4 separate regions of the Homo sapiens genome follow, and all the other regions are linked to region 1. Evidence: promoter capture Hi-C in 16 types of primary human blood cells and fetal thymus (Javierre and others, 2016). All regions are on one chromosome and are shown on one strand. The core of a region is centred on a gene start or on the middle of the fragment in contact, and the rest is flanking DNA. Distances in the headings are between cores, read along the strand shown. Region 1 holds the start of TMEM171 (transmembrane protein 171). Region 2 has its middle 26 kb from the start of ANKRA2. Region 3 has its middle 16 kb from the start of BTF3. Region 4 has its middle 22 kb from the start of FOXD1.

Region 1 (3,691 bases), core at 875-3,374:
ATGTGGCACCAGAGGGGCAGCTGTATCAACAGGCCCCTTGCAGGCCTGCACATGACATGGCCAGAGATTCAGTTTCAAATAAGGGGGAAGGGAAGAATGAGTAGGGAAAGGACAAGGAAACCCTTTTGCACAATGAAGAGTTGTTCACAGGCCTGTGTCAGAGGGGACAAATCCTATAATGAGGGCCTGAGTTCTTAGAAAGCCAGTGCCTGCTGTTGTACAATCCACTCTTGGGTATCTGCCCATTCGCTGGACATGCTTTGGTGCCCTTCCAGAAGGTGGTATACCTTGACACTTGGACCAGGAAGGATATCTCCACCCCAAACATAGATTACTGCAATGTCCTTGGGACACAGTGCCTGTATTGTTATAATAATCTAAACGTGCTTGGCATCACAAGGCCATGAGGGCGTTTTCTGGGTTCACAGCATGGTGTGTTCTCTGAGTGACAGGTGTGCTGCGGGAGAAACACTGAATGGTCAGCGCATCTGCATCTGGCTCAGGCCTTCTCTGCATGTCAACCAGCTGCAGAGGTTACTTTACCTCTGTCAGCCTGGACCTCAGTTTCCTCAACTGACAAATGACTGTTTTTCTCAGTCTCCTGTCCCCTGCTGCCTCCAACCTTTTCTGAACTGCTGGAGAGATGTAGCAAAGAACCACAAAGCAAGGGGTCGTGAGTGTTGGCATTGTTCATTTCGACAGTAATCAGGGCTGTTAGTTATGGCGGGGATTTACAGAGGTCGGGCACCCTGGCTATGAAAAAGTCCACCTTTGGCCACCCAGGCAAGTGCCCCACCAAATTCCAATGGCAAGAACTTGTCCGTTCTGCCTCCCTGGTGAACCCTAAAGCCCAGGTAACCCCCTCCCCTCTTTACCTCTCTGACTGGTTCTTTAAGTCTCTTCTCACCTCTGATGATTAGCTAAGCCTGCTTCATACTTTACCTTCAGTGAGCATGACCAGGAATCTCTTGTTGTATCAGGTAGGTAAAGTGCTTGCTTGCACATTGAAAAGTTTCATCCATTGGCCTTAACTCTAGATAGGGTTTCAGGCAAGGCAGACAGGAAGCTGAGAAGAGAAGGCAGGGCTGGGAAGTCCCCGTGGCTCAGGGCACCTCTGCGCTTGGGCAGAGAACCCTTGACTCACCTTCCACCGTGCCCTGACCCCTGGTGTGGAAACTAGCACAGTTGGATCCGTATCACGTGTCACGGGGCTGGTTACAAATAGCACAGGGATTGGCAAACTCATCCCGAAACTCCCGGTTCAAGGGCAGGGAAAGTTACCAGTTTAATTCCGGCAGATCATTAGTGGTGGAGAACCAGGAAGGGGGTTCTATCGCAAAGGAGGGCTGTGCGCAGACACGTGGGTGCGGGAGGGGCAGAGCTGGTCCGGCGCGGGGCTTGCCGCGTCTCGGCCTCAGTCTCGGAGCCAGGACCTCAGGCCTGAATGGCTGGGTGTGGAGGGCCCTTGTCTCACATTCTGTAGAGCGCACGTCGTCCCGTGACCTGGTGGCTCCATATTCGATGGGGAGCTCGCAGCGAGTCGCTTCCCTCTGTAACCCCACTCCAGGTCTCCAGAGCAGTAGGAGGGCCACAGGGCTGCTGGGTGTAGTCGCCCCGGACCTCGCGGTGGCCAAGGCCAAGGCGGCCGGGGCACGGTACCCTGTTCGGCCTGGGCCGCAACCACGAAGGAGGCGGTGGAGGCGGGGGCCGGCGCTTCCTCCGCGCCCCCCACGCCGCCGCTCTCTCGCGCCCCTATAGAACTGGGCCTCAGGCCTCGAGGGGGAGCGGGCCTCGGCGGGCGGGGCGCACAGTTCCGCCAGCCGGCGGGGGCATCTCAACTCGCCGGCCCCGCCAGGTGTGCGGGCCAGGCAGCCGTGGAAGGTGCCCATTTCTCCCAGATTCCTCGCGCGCACGGCCACGAGCGCGGAGGCTGCCAAACCCGCCAGCCCTGGGTTCCGAAGCCGCCCCTGGCTCTCCATTCCCTCGCGGGCGCGCCCCGGGCCCCCAGTGGCGGCCAGCTCCCACCGGTCGCTCCTGCACTGCCCTGCCCTGCCCTCCCCGGGCCGCCGCGCCCGCGCAGCACCGCCTCCTTCTCTAAATACTGCCGGGTCCGCCCTCCGCACCAGGACGCGCGGTGGGTAGGGTGCAGGGCGGCCGGCGCAGCCGAGGCCGCGTGCGGAGGCGGACGCCGCGCCCAGCCAGTGCCCACAGCAGCGCGGTCAGCCAGGCGCCGGACCCAGCTTCAGGTAAGCTGCCCCGGCCCGCGCGCCTGCGCCGGCGGCGGCGGGTCGGGCGCTGAGCTGTGCGGCCAGGCTGGGCGCGGGGAGCCGCGGCAGCGCGGAGGCGCTGGGTATCCGAGCCCAACCTGCGTCCCTGCGAGCCCCTCCGGCTGTTGCTTGCGCTCGGGCTCCCTAAAAGCCGCAAACCGATTTCGCACAGAAGGCATTTGCCTCTCGTTTCGTTCCCCAAACGCACCATAGCTTTGGACGTGGAGAGGTGCTGTGAATTTTGGAAATGTCTTTTGGAAAACCAATAGGAGTGTTGGAGAGGGGAGTTTGGCTTTGGGGAGTTTAAGTGTAGGGTGGTGTTTGGAAAAGGTTTCATTGCGAGTGAATGTGGGTGTCTTTGTATCCGTTTGTGAGTGCATCTGTGGGAGAAGGAGAGAGAGAGAGTATTTCCACACTATTATGGATCAGAGGTGAACACTCAGCCAGGTGCTCCGTCCACTAGTCCACGGACAAGAAACTACAGATTCAGTTTTGGGCTTCTATTTACTGGTGTTTGGGAATTTGCCTTAAGACAGTTGAAGCCTTGTGACTCACTGCAAAGTTGACTATACTGGGAATAAATGAATTCCTGATAGGACTTTGCAGCCGAGAATCACCCTTCTCTTTCTTGTCTCCGAAACCGCAAAAGAGATTGCATGATTCAGGAAAAAAATTAAAACAACAACAATAACAAAAAACCAATATATATAGGTTTCAGGACTCTCCATCGTTTCATTCCACTGAGAGTTTTGGAATGTACTCCCTGTAGGATAAATGAGGACTACTGTATACTCAATATGAAATTCTTATTCACTGCAGGATGTTACTGACTTAATAAAAAATGGGAAGATTAAAAAATTAGTGCAATGCTTTGTCTCAGCTTAACTGCATCTGTATATCAAGTTTTTCCAAGTTTGAAATGAAAGCTTTTTTCCCTCCTATATTTCCTTTTTTTCTCCAACTTCCTTCTGATTCTATCATACTTTTTCCTGGAAAAGTTTTTCCCAGTGTAAGATTGCCTGTTTGCTTTCTTTACCTAAACTGACCTTCCCTCAGTGTGATTTTGGTTTGTCAAGATCATCTTGGGCTTAGGGCCTCAGTCTTGAGTTCCTTCATGGGACCATGGATGTGAGCGGCACAAAATATTTTAAAAGTTTTCTTTCCTTGGGCAGGTGAAAATAGTCTTCACGATTTTGGATTGTCTTTGCAATTGCAGGACCTGACTTACGGGGTCCTGGTAAAATATCCCATTCATTGGAGTAAAATAAGATAACGAGATAATTAGGTCAGCTCTGTGTAAGCTAGACAACTCTTTAACAACCACTTGGCATATTTAATATATTATACCCCTGAAGTACAGGGCTTGGGTGATTTTCTGGAAGGTGCTTTCTCACTTGATTCCACTTATACTATTCTTTCAAAGC
Region 2 (3,691 bases), core at 787-3,286, 420 kb after region 1:
TGCAAGTCTTTATAACCCCTTGGGTCTTAGTTTCCTTGCTTGTCAAATCAATGCTTCCAAGTCCTACCAACTCTGAGGGTCTCCTGGGGGAATCCAATGAGGCCATGTGTGGAAGCATTTTGGTAACTTTTTTTTTTTTTTGAAACGGAGTTTCACTCTTGTTGCCCAGGCTGGAGTGCAATGGCATTAACTCGGTTCACTGCAATCTCTGACTCCCGGGTTCAAGCGATTCTCCTACCTCAGCCTCTCAAGTAGCTGGGATTAAGGCATGTGTCGCCATGCCCAGCTGATTTTGTATTTTTAGTAGAGACAGGATTTTGCCATGTTGACCAGGCTGGTCTCAAATTCCTGACCTCAGGTGATCTGCCCACCTCGGCCTCCCAAAATGCTGGGATTACAGGCGTGAACCACTGCACCCAGCCTTTTTTTTTTTTTTTTTTTTTTTTTTGAGACAAGTTTCGCTCTGTTGCCCAGGCTGGAGTGCAGTGGCTTAATCTCTGCTCACTGCAACCTCTGCCTCCCAGGTTCAAGTGATTCTCCTGCCTCAGCCTCCCCAAGTAGCTGGGACTACAGGCATGTGGCAACACACCCAGCTAATTTTTGTATTTTTTGTGGAGATGGGGTTTTGCTGTGTTGGCCAAGCTGGTCTCGAACTCCTGACCTCAAGTGATCCACCGGCCTCAGCCTCCCAAAGTGCTGGGATTACAGGTGTGAGCTACTGCACCTGGCCATTGGTAACTATTTAAAGCTCTATACAAACGTATGACGAGAATCACTGAAATAATATTTGGAGAGTGTTTTGCCAAGTGCCTGGTAGTTGAAACAAATTTTTTCAGGTAAAATTTTTTTTGGCTTAAAATATCTGAGGTCAGGTGCAGTGGCTCACACCTGTAATCCCAGCACTTTGGGAGGCCAAGGTAGGTGGACCCCTTCAGTCCCGGAGTTCAGGACCAGCCTGGGCAACATGATGAAACCCTATTTCTACAAAAAATATAATAAAATTAACCTGGCATGGTGGCATGTGCCTGTAGGCCAAACTACTCCAGAGGCTGAGGTGGGAGGATCACCTGAGTCCAGGGAAGTTGAGACTGCCATGACCCATGACCATGCCACTGCACTCCAGTCTGGGCGACAGAGTAAGACCCTGTCTCAGAAATAAAATAAATAAAATAAAATATTTGGAAAAAAATCAAAAAGGTTGGTTGTAAGTCTATGTAGTGTAAGGAATGTAGTCTATTTTTAGGGTTTAAATTGATGACAAATTATTTTCCTAAGGGACTGCCATTAGAGCATTGCCAAGGACTTCAAGTCCTGCTCAGCGAGTGGGCTGAGGAACACAGTTTTCTGTGTAAGCTGCTGAGACTTTAAGCCCTAGGACTCAAGAGCAGGCTTGACTCTCTCCCAGGTAAACTTGCATTTACCTGGCAGGTACGTAGGGACCTCCTGAGCTGGAGCAGATACCTCTCTCAGAACTTCAAAAAGCCAAACCTCAGAGCCCCCTGTAGTTTCCAAAATGGACCCTTCTAGAAGCTGTGGGGAAGCTTGTGACTAGGAGACAATGAACCCAGATCTGCACAAAACAGGTGAAGACAGAGGCATCCTCAAACTGTCGTGGGGCGGGAGGGGTGGTGTCACTTGGGAATTCCTTCCCCCTTTTCCTCTTGATGGACCTAATTTGAAATAATCCTTCCCAGGTCCTGACTAAATTTCTGCCAGAAGCCTTTTTTTTTTTTTTTCGACAGAGTCTCATTCCGTTGCCCAGGCTGCAGCGCAGTGTCACAAATTGGCTCACTGTAACCTCCGCCTCCCAGGTTCAAGAGATTCTTCTGCCCCAGCATCCCAGTAGCTGGGATTGCAGGTGTGCACCATCATGCCCAGCTAATTTCTGCATTTTTAGTAGAGGTGGGGTTTCACCATGTTGGCCAGGCTGGTCTCAAACTCCTGGCCTAAAGTGATCCACCTGCTTTGGCCTCCCAAGGTGCCAGGATTACAGGCATGCACCACTGTGCCCAGCTGCCAGAAGGATTATAAACCAGCATGACCCAGGCACCTGGAGATGCAGAAAATCTGACCCCCCAGTCCTGTGGCCTTGAAAAATGTGCTCAGGTAAGGATCACAGAAAATGGTCTTCGGCAGACAGAAAGATTAGTGCTGGATTTTATTATTTTGTAAATGGTTTAGCCTATTTATAACTTATGAAGCAGAAACTAAAAACAGCTTAAGTATATGTTTATTTTAATTGGAGATGGGCATATGTTTATGTATGCCAATAACTTTTTGAAAGTATGTCATTATAATGAAACTATTATAAAGATGTGCATATGGGTGCATGTTGTATATATGTCAGCAGACACATATTGACATTTATGCAAAGTTGGTTATTGGAAGTGACTGGTAGTAGATATGACTGGGCTGTTCTTGTGCATAATCTTTGGTCCCTGGAAACCCTGAAGGACTGAGCGTGACCCAGGCAGTGGGTTTCTTCCCCATCAGCTTGGTTGCTTGGCGTTTATCTGCAACTGTCTTCCAAGTAAAGCTTCCCAGGAACTAGAGTCTGGGAAAACCTTACTGGGACTTTGGGTGCCTTTAAGCCATTGGCTATGACAGAGAGAAGTTGTTACTGGAAGGCTCTTGTGACATAACTGAGGGGTTCCTGCTTAGGAGGGCTCTTTTATTTATTTTTGAAAAAAGTAGAAATGTCACCTTTTTTATGATTCAGATGATCTGAAGGCACATCCTTTGCAGTGGAAAGAGAAGAGACTCCTGTTACCTACAATAGAAGGAATAGCCTAGACTGCACTGAATGCAGTGACTCATTGTGGGTTACAGGACATACTGGAGTAAATGCGCCTTACTGGAGTGAGACTTCAGTGACAGAGGGTTGAGTTGAGACTCGTCATCTTGTCTCATTCCTAGGAGGTGCTCAGTGAATACTTATGAAAAGGAAGGGAGGGAGTGTTGAGGGAGGGAGAGAGGGAGGGAGGAAAGCGGCAGGGTCTGAGCCTTCAGGAAGCAGGTGTCAGGCTCAGCTGGAATAATTTAGCCCTGCCAAAGATAACCTGGAAGGATCTTTTCAGAAAAAGGACAAAGCATTTCCCAAAGTAACTCATTTCTCAGTATTTGGAGGGTTGCAAACTAGGCACAACTTGTGTCCTTGCCTGGCGGTCAGTCTGGGCATGATGGATGAACCAGTGGAATGGGTGGCCCCAGGGCTCTGCTGATGGAGGCTGTGTTGTATGGGGTGTAGGCTCTTCTCAGGGAAGGTTTGTGGAGGATGTTGAGCCAGTGAGGGATGGTGGGAGTGTGTGGTGAATGTCTCTGATGCTGGTCCCTCAGAGAGGAGAGAAGGAGGAGAGGAAGAGGGAAGAAAGGAAAGAGGGAAGGAGGAGAAGAGGGGAGGGGACATCACAGCAAACATGACCAGAACCAGAGGGACTGTCTTCACAAAGGACTCCTGGTGCTCAGGTGGCAAAATGGGACCCAGAGTCTAGGGTAGGGATATTCTCCTTATTTCTTGTAACTGTCAACATTCTTAGCATCAGAAACCAACTCTGGTTAAACCAAAAAGGAACTGACTGAAAAGCACCTGGTTCACAGAAACATGGGGAAATCTTGAGAAGCAGGCAGGAGAAAGGGTCAGGCAGCTGCAGGTCCACAGCCAAAATCTTGCCAGTGAGGACATGGCCGTCAC
Region 3 (3,691 bases), core at 483-2,982, 390 kb after region 1:
GAAAGGAGGGGGTTAATGAAGGTCTGCGTAGGAAGTCTCAGACTGCAGCTTTTTTTTTGTGAGACGGAGTCTCACTCTGTTGCCCAGGCTGGAGTGCAGTGCAATGGCGTAATCTCTGCTCACTACAACCTCTGCCTCCCAGGGTCTAGCAATTCTCCCGCCTCAGCCTCCCGAGTAGCTGGGATTACAGGTGCCTGCCACCATGCATGGCTAATTTTTGTATTTTTAGTAGAAATGGCGTTTCACCATTTTGGCCAGGCTGGTCTCGAACTCCTGACCTCAGGTGATCCGCCTGCCTCGGCTTCCCAAAGTGATGGGATTACAGGCGTGAGCCACCGTGCCTGGCCTGCAGCCAGTTCTAAGAAAGTTTCAGACAGGCCAAGGTGGAGTCTTTGAGGCAAAGTCACCCATTAGCAGGGTCCCATGTCTTGAGGGATGGGTAGCACTAGCAACCCCACAGTGCTCAGTAATTGCCTGGGGACCACGTGGGGAAGAGTAGCCTTGGCATGAATGTGGTGGTGGGTCCAGACAGGTGGTGGCTGGGGCTGTCAGTTAAAGGAGCTCCCTGATGCAGACGCTCTTGAAGGAGACCTGAGCAGAGCACTATTATTGGCACATAATATGTGCTCAATAAATGCTTTTCTGAATGAGTGTTCAAAAGGTAAAATGAGAATCCAGATCTTACCCTTATGTCCCATTGTGTAGAATCCTACTAACTCCCAAAGCTGACTAGGATCGTGAGTCCAAAACTGTTCTCATCAGGAGACCAACACCCTAAGCCTTAGGTTTTTGTTTGTTTGTTTGTTTTCATGGCAATTTGATGAGTCAGTTTCCCATATTTCAAATCTATCACTTTCTCTATGCCCCATTTCCTTCACTGAAGCCACACAAATACTGCTTGCTTTTATCATCTCAAAAGCCTTCCATGGCTCCACTTCTGGCAGCATCAAGGTTCAGTTCTTTAATCAACATGCATTACTGAAGGCATTTGTCCAATAAGCATGTAGCAGGGCTGGGATTAGAAGGATATTGCTTGTCTTCAAGATGCATTCCAGAACAGATAATTACTGCACTGTGTGTCCAGGAGCTGGGTTAAGCTTTACACAGGATTTGTGGAAGCACAGAGGTGGCACACCTCACTCAGTCTGGGGACACCTGAGATTAGTCTTAAACCCTCTATGAGCCAGCCAAACAAGCAATGGAAGAAGGACATCATGGCAGAGCGGAGAGCATCTGCCAGAGTGTGGCAAGAGGAAGCGTGGTGTCAATGTGTGGATGCGTGTGTGTAATGCAATTCAGTGCTACTGGACCATAATCCTTCCTTATTTTTCACTCACCCCCACCCCTTAACTACTCAGTGTTATTTTTCACCTCTCTCCCTCACATACTTCAAGTTTGGTGCAAGGCAAAGTCCTAATCCTTTGTGTCCTACCAGAGGGTACACAGTTTCCATCTCTGGCAAACCTCTTCCCAAACCTCAATCTAAATCTGAACCCCCTACAAGGTTTGGCTCCAGTTCTCACTTTTATGACCGTGTCCCTTCAGCACCAGTTCTAGCTGATTTCTCTCAAATTACTGGAAATATGTATCATCTCACTCAACTTAATTCCTGGTCGTATGCTGTTCTGTATTGCCCACGACTGTTTCACCAGTCTCCTAATCACAGTGGAAACTCCTGGAAGGTGGAAACTGTATCCTGACTTCAGAGTCAGGCTGACCTGGATCAGAAACCTGGCTTATTAATGTATTTGCGATATGATCTGGGGCAAGTTGCCTCCCCCCACCGACTCTCAGTCATAATGGTGATAGCACCCTGCAGGTTTGTTAAGAATAAAATAAAGATGAGAAGTATAAAATGAACAGAGCAGTGGCTGGCACCTACCACATGCCGAACATTATCAGTAGACTCACCCATTTTGGAAATATATGGAGTATAAATATACTCTTGTTGGTTGAGTGAATTATTGACAGATTGGCCACCCAGAGGTGACACATACTTTCAGGTTTTACAGGTATTCCAAAGGTGATCCCAAGACCAGTCACAGCGGTGATCACACCCAGTACAAGGACTGCCATGTAGGAAATCAGAAGACATTGCCTGGTGGGAAGCCAGCTGTGATCTGTCACCGCAAAACACACAAGCACAAAAGAGAGTCTCTATCACAGGACAGAGGCTCACAGTGGGGATACAGTGTTACCTAACCAGGTGTTGTTCAGGTTTTCTCACTGTGAAAGGCAGAAGCCAAAATTATTAGACCTTGAGTGTGTGCTTTTAGTGATAATGGTGCTTTTCCTGTCTACAGTTTCTAATTTGATCTTCTGGCAACCAGCCTTATGATGAGTGGGTATTGCTCCCCTCGTAAAAATGAAGCTTTACAATGAAGAAAGAAGGACCAGTGAGGTGAAGTGACTTCTCAGGTTTATGCTGATATAAACGGAGCCCAGTCTTCTGGTTCCTATCTGGGTAGGGCTGCTTCTACTATGCTAATGTTTCCTGGGCCCCACCCCAGACTACAGAATCAGACTCTCTAGGGGTTGCACCAGGAATCTGCACATCTTCTGAATACCTTGAGTCATCCTTAAACACACACAAATTTGAGAACACAGCCCTATACCAAAGATGCCAGCCTGGGCAACACAGTGAGACCCCATCTCTACAAAAAGTTAAAAACCCAAAATAAATTAGCTGGGTGTGGTGCTGCACACCTGTAGTCCCAGCCTACTGGGGAGGTTGAAGTGGGAGGATCACTTGAGCCCAGAAGGTTGAGGCTGCAATGTGCCATGATAGAGCCACTGTACTCCAGCTTGGGCAACAGAATGAGACCCAGGCTCAAAAACAAAACCAGGCCGGGCGTGATGACTCACACCTGTAATCCCAGCATTTTGGGAGGCTGAGGCAGGCAGATCACTTTGAGATCAGGAGTTCGAGACCAGCTTGGCCAACATGGTGAAACCCCATCTCTACTAAAAGTACAAAAATTAGCTGGGCATGGTGGCATATGCCTGTAATCCCAGCTACTTGGGACGCTGAGGCAGGAGGACTGCTTGAACCTGGGAGGCAGAGGTTGTAGTGAGCTGAGATCGCGCCACCACACTCTACCTTGGGCGACAGTAAGACCCTGTCTCAAACAAAAGAAAACAAACAACAACAAAAAAAAAAGCAAAGACGAAATGCGGACCATGGTTTTGGGATCCAATTAGACATGCCAAAGGACAAACATTTGCCATCTGCTTAGTGGTTTCTGGAGTAAGCAATCATTGAAGAACAGGAAGCGGAAGCTGCTTCTGTTTTATTTAGAGTGGCTTGGCACCATGAGCAAGAACTTGCCTGACCAGTTTTTTTGGCACACCACGAAGAGAAGGAGTTCTCAGACCACTTGTTATTTTATTTTATTTTATTTATTTTTTTAAATAGAGACAGGACCTCATTATGTTGCCAGGCTGCTTTTGAGCTCCTGGCCTCAAGCAATCTTCTCACCTTAGCCTCTCAGTGTTGGAATTATTGGCATGAGCCACTGCACCCAGCCTCATGATTATTTTTGTCAGTTACAGCAGCACTACCTTTTGCCAACAACGATACCCACCTTTGATATTTCCAAAGTGACCCATTGGCCAGAGTTGCTAAACAGCTCTGAACCTCCCTCAGGGGCTGAGTCTGGAGTTGCGGGATCTCTTGGGCCCCCACCTAAGG
Region 4 (3,691 bases), core at 752-3,251, 310 kb after region 1:
GGGCACAAAGCCAATTTTTAAGTGAATGATTTGTAACTTTTCCTCCAAATAAATTAATCTACTAATATTTAGATCATCCTGATTTTAATCCACAAAAGTCATGTAGTCATTGTAAAAAATATCCAATAATCTATTTGTCTTTTATGATAGAATTATAGTACTGATTTGTATTAATAGATCTGTCGAGATATGTTGACAAAATGGAAAACATTACACATATTTCCTTTGATCTCTTTCTCTACCATAAAAAACCTACCTAAATAAATACAGCGGCATTTATAACATGTGAATTTGAAATGATCCTTTTGGTTATTTACTTTAAATTTTAAATTATGTTAAAGATGAGCATTTTAAGCTTCTATCTACCTATATGAACTTGCTTCTTAAGCGATGTAAATTTATTATAAAATACTCATGACACTTAGATGCTTAAGTGTGTGGTTACAAGGCAGAGTAACAAATGGAATTTGTTTACTCCAATGGGATTTTGTTTTCCATATAGCTATTGTTATAGTGCAAAATGAGAACTTCTGAGAATTAGCAATAGGATACCTAAATAAACATTCCCATTTAAAGATGATTCTGTAAGTAAAACATAAATAATTTAAACCCCAGAGAATAAAGGCTCTTGACCTGGTTCTGTACAGTGCCCAGAATAGCTTCGTTACATGAAGGTTCTCATCATTCACACTAAGGCAGTTTTTCTCAAGTCTCCCCACTGCTGTTCTCCTGCCTAGCTAGTTATCTATTGTGGTATAATAGATTACCCCCAAACTTAGCAGTTTAAAACAACACTTATTATCTCACAGTTTCTATGGGTCAGGAGCTGGGCACGGTTTGGCTGGATCCCCTAACTGGGTCTCTTGCATGACTACAGTCATCTCAAGGCTTGAATTGGAAGGGTCCACTTCTGAGGTCACTCATCTGCTTGGTGGCAGGAATCAGTTCTGTGCTTGTTGACTGGTGGACTGAGGCCTCATTTCTTCCAGGGCTGTTGGCTGGAGGCTTCGCCTCCCTAGGTTCCTTCCCATGTGGGCCTCTAGGTAGATCATCTCACAACATGTCACTTGGCTGCATCAGTGCTAGCATGCAAGTGGGCGAGAGAGTACTAGCAAGGTGGAAGACAGAGTCTCTCGTGACCTGATCATGTAAGTGACACCCCATCACTTTAGCTGTATTTTCTTTGTTGGAGGAAAGTGACTAGGTCCTGCTCACACTCGAGGGGAGGGGATTACACACGGTTTGAATTCCAAGAGGTGTGCATCACTGGGAGCATGTCAGTAGCTGTCTTCTGTATCACTGGTGACTATTAGGGGTATACTTCCTGTGATGGTTAATTTTAGGTGTCAACTTGACTAGATTAAGGATACCTAGAGAACTGGTAACACATTATATCTGGGTGTGTCTGTTGGGGTGTTTCCAGAGAAGACTGGCAGTCTGTGAACTGAGTGGAGGGAAATCCACCCTCTATGTGGACAGGCACCACCCAATCACCTAGAGGCCCAGAAAGAACCAAAAAAAAGCAGAGGAAAGGTGGTTTCCTCTCTCTCTCTCCTGGAGCTGAGACATCCATCTTCTGCTCTTGGACATCAGAACTCCAGGCTCTCCAGCCTTTGGACTCTAATACTTAACCAGCAGCCCCCTAGGTTCTCAGACCCTTGGTTTCAGACTGAGAATTAAACCATCAGCTCCCCTAGTTCTGAAGCTTTCAGATTTAGACTGAGCCATGGTACTGGCATCCAGGGTCTCCAGCTTTTGGACGGCTTGTTGTGGGATTTCTGAGCCTGCATAACCATGTGAGCCAACTTCCCTAATAAATTACCTCTCATCTACCTACCTTTCTATCTGCAGTCATACCTTGGTATCTGTGGGGGACTCAGGAACCTGTTAGAACTGCAGATTTCCAGGCCTACTCAAGATCTACTGAGTCAGAAACTCTAGGATTGAGGCCCAGTATGCTGTGTTCTAAGAAGCCCACCAGATTATTCTGAGCATCTTAAAAATTTGAGAAGTATTGCCTTAAAAACAAAGGGAGCAGAGCTGCCAGGCCTCCCAATTTCCCTCTTACAAGACCAGGATCCCAGTCATGGGAATACTTGCTACTGCTCATGGTTTTAATGATGATGATTTGCAACGTAAACCAGGAGACAGCTTATGAGGGTACATCATGTGGCAAATCTAGAAGAGAATTTTAGTTTTTCTTTACCTGGGATTTCAGTTTTTCAACCTAGTGAACCTCATGCACCTAACCCCAAAGCCTAGTACTTTACATGTTGTGAGGCCAAAAGGAACTAAACAAAGCTTCAGAAAAGCTAATCAGCAGTAGAAACTTCATTGAGTTGTACAAATGCCAGACTTACTAATATACCTTAATTCTCTAAAAGGGTTCTTCTTATACTCTTTACCACTCCCTGCCCCCCACCCAAAAAATATTGTAATGGCCACAACTGTACTCCTAAGGTATAAGGTGGCTAAGAATAGCTAATTATATGTACTAGGTCCTTCTAGTAGGAATGCAAACTGAAGTGAGTTAGCATCATAACCATGGAATGCTATGCAAAATCTCATGTCCTCCCCATTTGTGTTCCTTCTGGTCTCTTTACCATCATTTCAAACTCTTCATCTTTGGGAGGCCTCCACAGTGTCATAAGAAAGAATACAGGCTCTGGAGATGGAAGATCTGGGTTCACATCTAAGCTCTGATACCTAGTACAGTCATGCATCCATAACAATGTCTCAGTCAATGACAGACCACCACTAACAGACAGATATTGATCCCATAAGATGATTAGGCTTTATTGTTATTGTGTCTTTTCTGTGTTTAGATATGTTTAGGTACACTTACCTTTGTGTTACAAGTGCCTACAGTACTCAGTATAGCCATACTGAACAGGTTTGTAGCCTAAGTAGGCTGCACCATATAGTCTAGATGTGTAGTAGACTATACCATCTACATTTCTGTAAGTACACCCTATTATGTTCACACAACAACAAATTTCTCAAAACATAACCCCATTGTTAAGCAACCCATGACTGTACATCTATACTAGTCTATAACTTTTGGTCAGAGCAATCAGCAGTCATCCAACATAGCAGTGCGAATGCCAGGTATCTGAAAGGGTGAATTACTACAACCCTACTGTTCTAGTTGGACAGTGTAGATCCATTAGGCCAACATTTATGGTTAGAGCAATTTCTTATCTTTACTGTTTTGCCTTTGGGTAAGTAGACAAAGCCAATGGACTCCAAATTATTTTATCCACATCATTCACCTGGTAAATCAGTCAATTTATTAATCAGTCAAAATATTTATTCAGTGCTAATTATGTACATGGAATTATGGAAATGTAAAGAATTACAAGGCATGGCCTTACTTTTAAGTAGCTTGAAATATAGTGGAAACTTAATAGTAGACTGAGTAAAGATTGGCACTTCACAAACGCTCATATAGAATTAATACCACGTAAGTAGTGGTCCACATAAAAAATTGCTAGGGATTCGGGAAATGAGTCCTTCACTGGGGGCAAATAAGAGTAACAGCACCCAGGCTCAAGAATCCAGCCACCTGGATTTGAATTCTAGCTCATCCACTTACAGATATATGACAATGGTAAACTGCTTAACCTCCTCATGCTTCAGTGATTCCTTCTTTTTTTTTTTTTTTTTTGTTTTTTTTCTGTTTGTTTGTTTT

Evidence for each region. Contacts are between HindIII fragments. The CHiCAGO score rates a contact against its expected background, and 5 or more counts as called.
Region 2: a contact is called between a fragment that was not itself captured here and the fragment with the promoter of TMEM171 in region 1, in 1 of 17 cell types (M2 macrophages). The highest score is 6.3, in M2 macrophages.
Region 3: a contact is called between a fragment that was not itself captured here and the fragment with the promoter of TMEM171 in region 1, in 1 of 17 cell types (M1 macrophages). The highest score is 5.3, in M1 macrophages.
Region 4: a fragment that was not itself captured here is called in contact with the fragment with the promoter of TMEM171 in region 1 in 1 of 17 cell types (M2 macrophages); the score reaches 5.5 in M2 macrophages.

The regions. Positions count from the first base shown.
Region 1 is chr5:73,118,451-73,122,141 of GRCh38, forward strand. TMEM171 (transmembrane protein 171) reads left to right here and starts at 2,125. Exons shown (of 4, transcript NM_173490.8): 1 at 2,125-2,246. It overlaps LOC124901001, which reads right to left and starts at 2,041. Exons shown (of 2, transcript XM_047417978.1): 1 at 1-2,041. The coding sequence starts at 1,979. The coding sequence ends at 1,278. RefSeq lists an enhancer at 964-1,515. The HindIII fragment of the contact is 5,746 bases long and covers 1-3,191 here.
Region 2 is chr5:73,537,533-73,541,223 of GRCh38, forward strand. No RefSeq gene overlaps it. Among named protein-coding and RNA genes, the nearest start is that of ANKRA2, 26 kb to the right of the region's middle. The HindIII fragment of the contact is 995 bases long and covers 1,540-2,534 here.
Region 3 is chr5:73,512,117-73,515,807 of GRCh38, forward strand. No RefSeq gene overlaps it. Among named protein-coding and RNA genes, the nearest start is that of BTF3, 16 kb to the left of the region's middle. The HindIII fragment of the contact is 1,274 bases long and covers 1,096-2,369 here.
Region 4 is chr5:73,424,930-73,428,620 of GRCh38, forward strand. No RefSeq gene overlaps it. Among named protein-coding and RNA genes, the nearest start is that of FOXD1, 22 kb to the right of the region's middle. The HindIII fragment of the contact is 596 bases long and covers 1,704-2,299 here.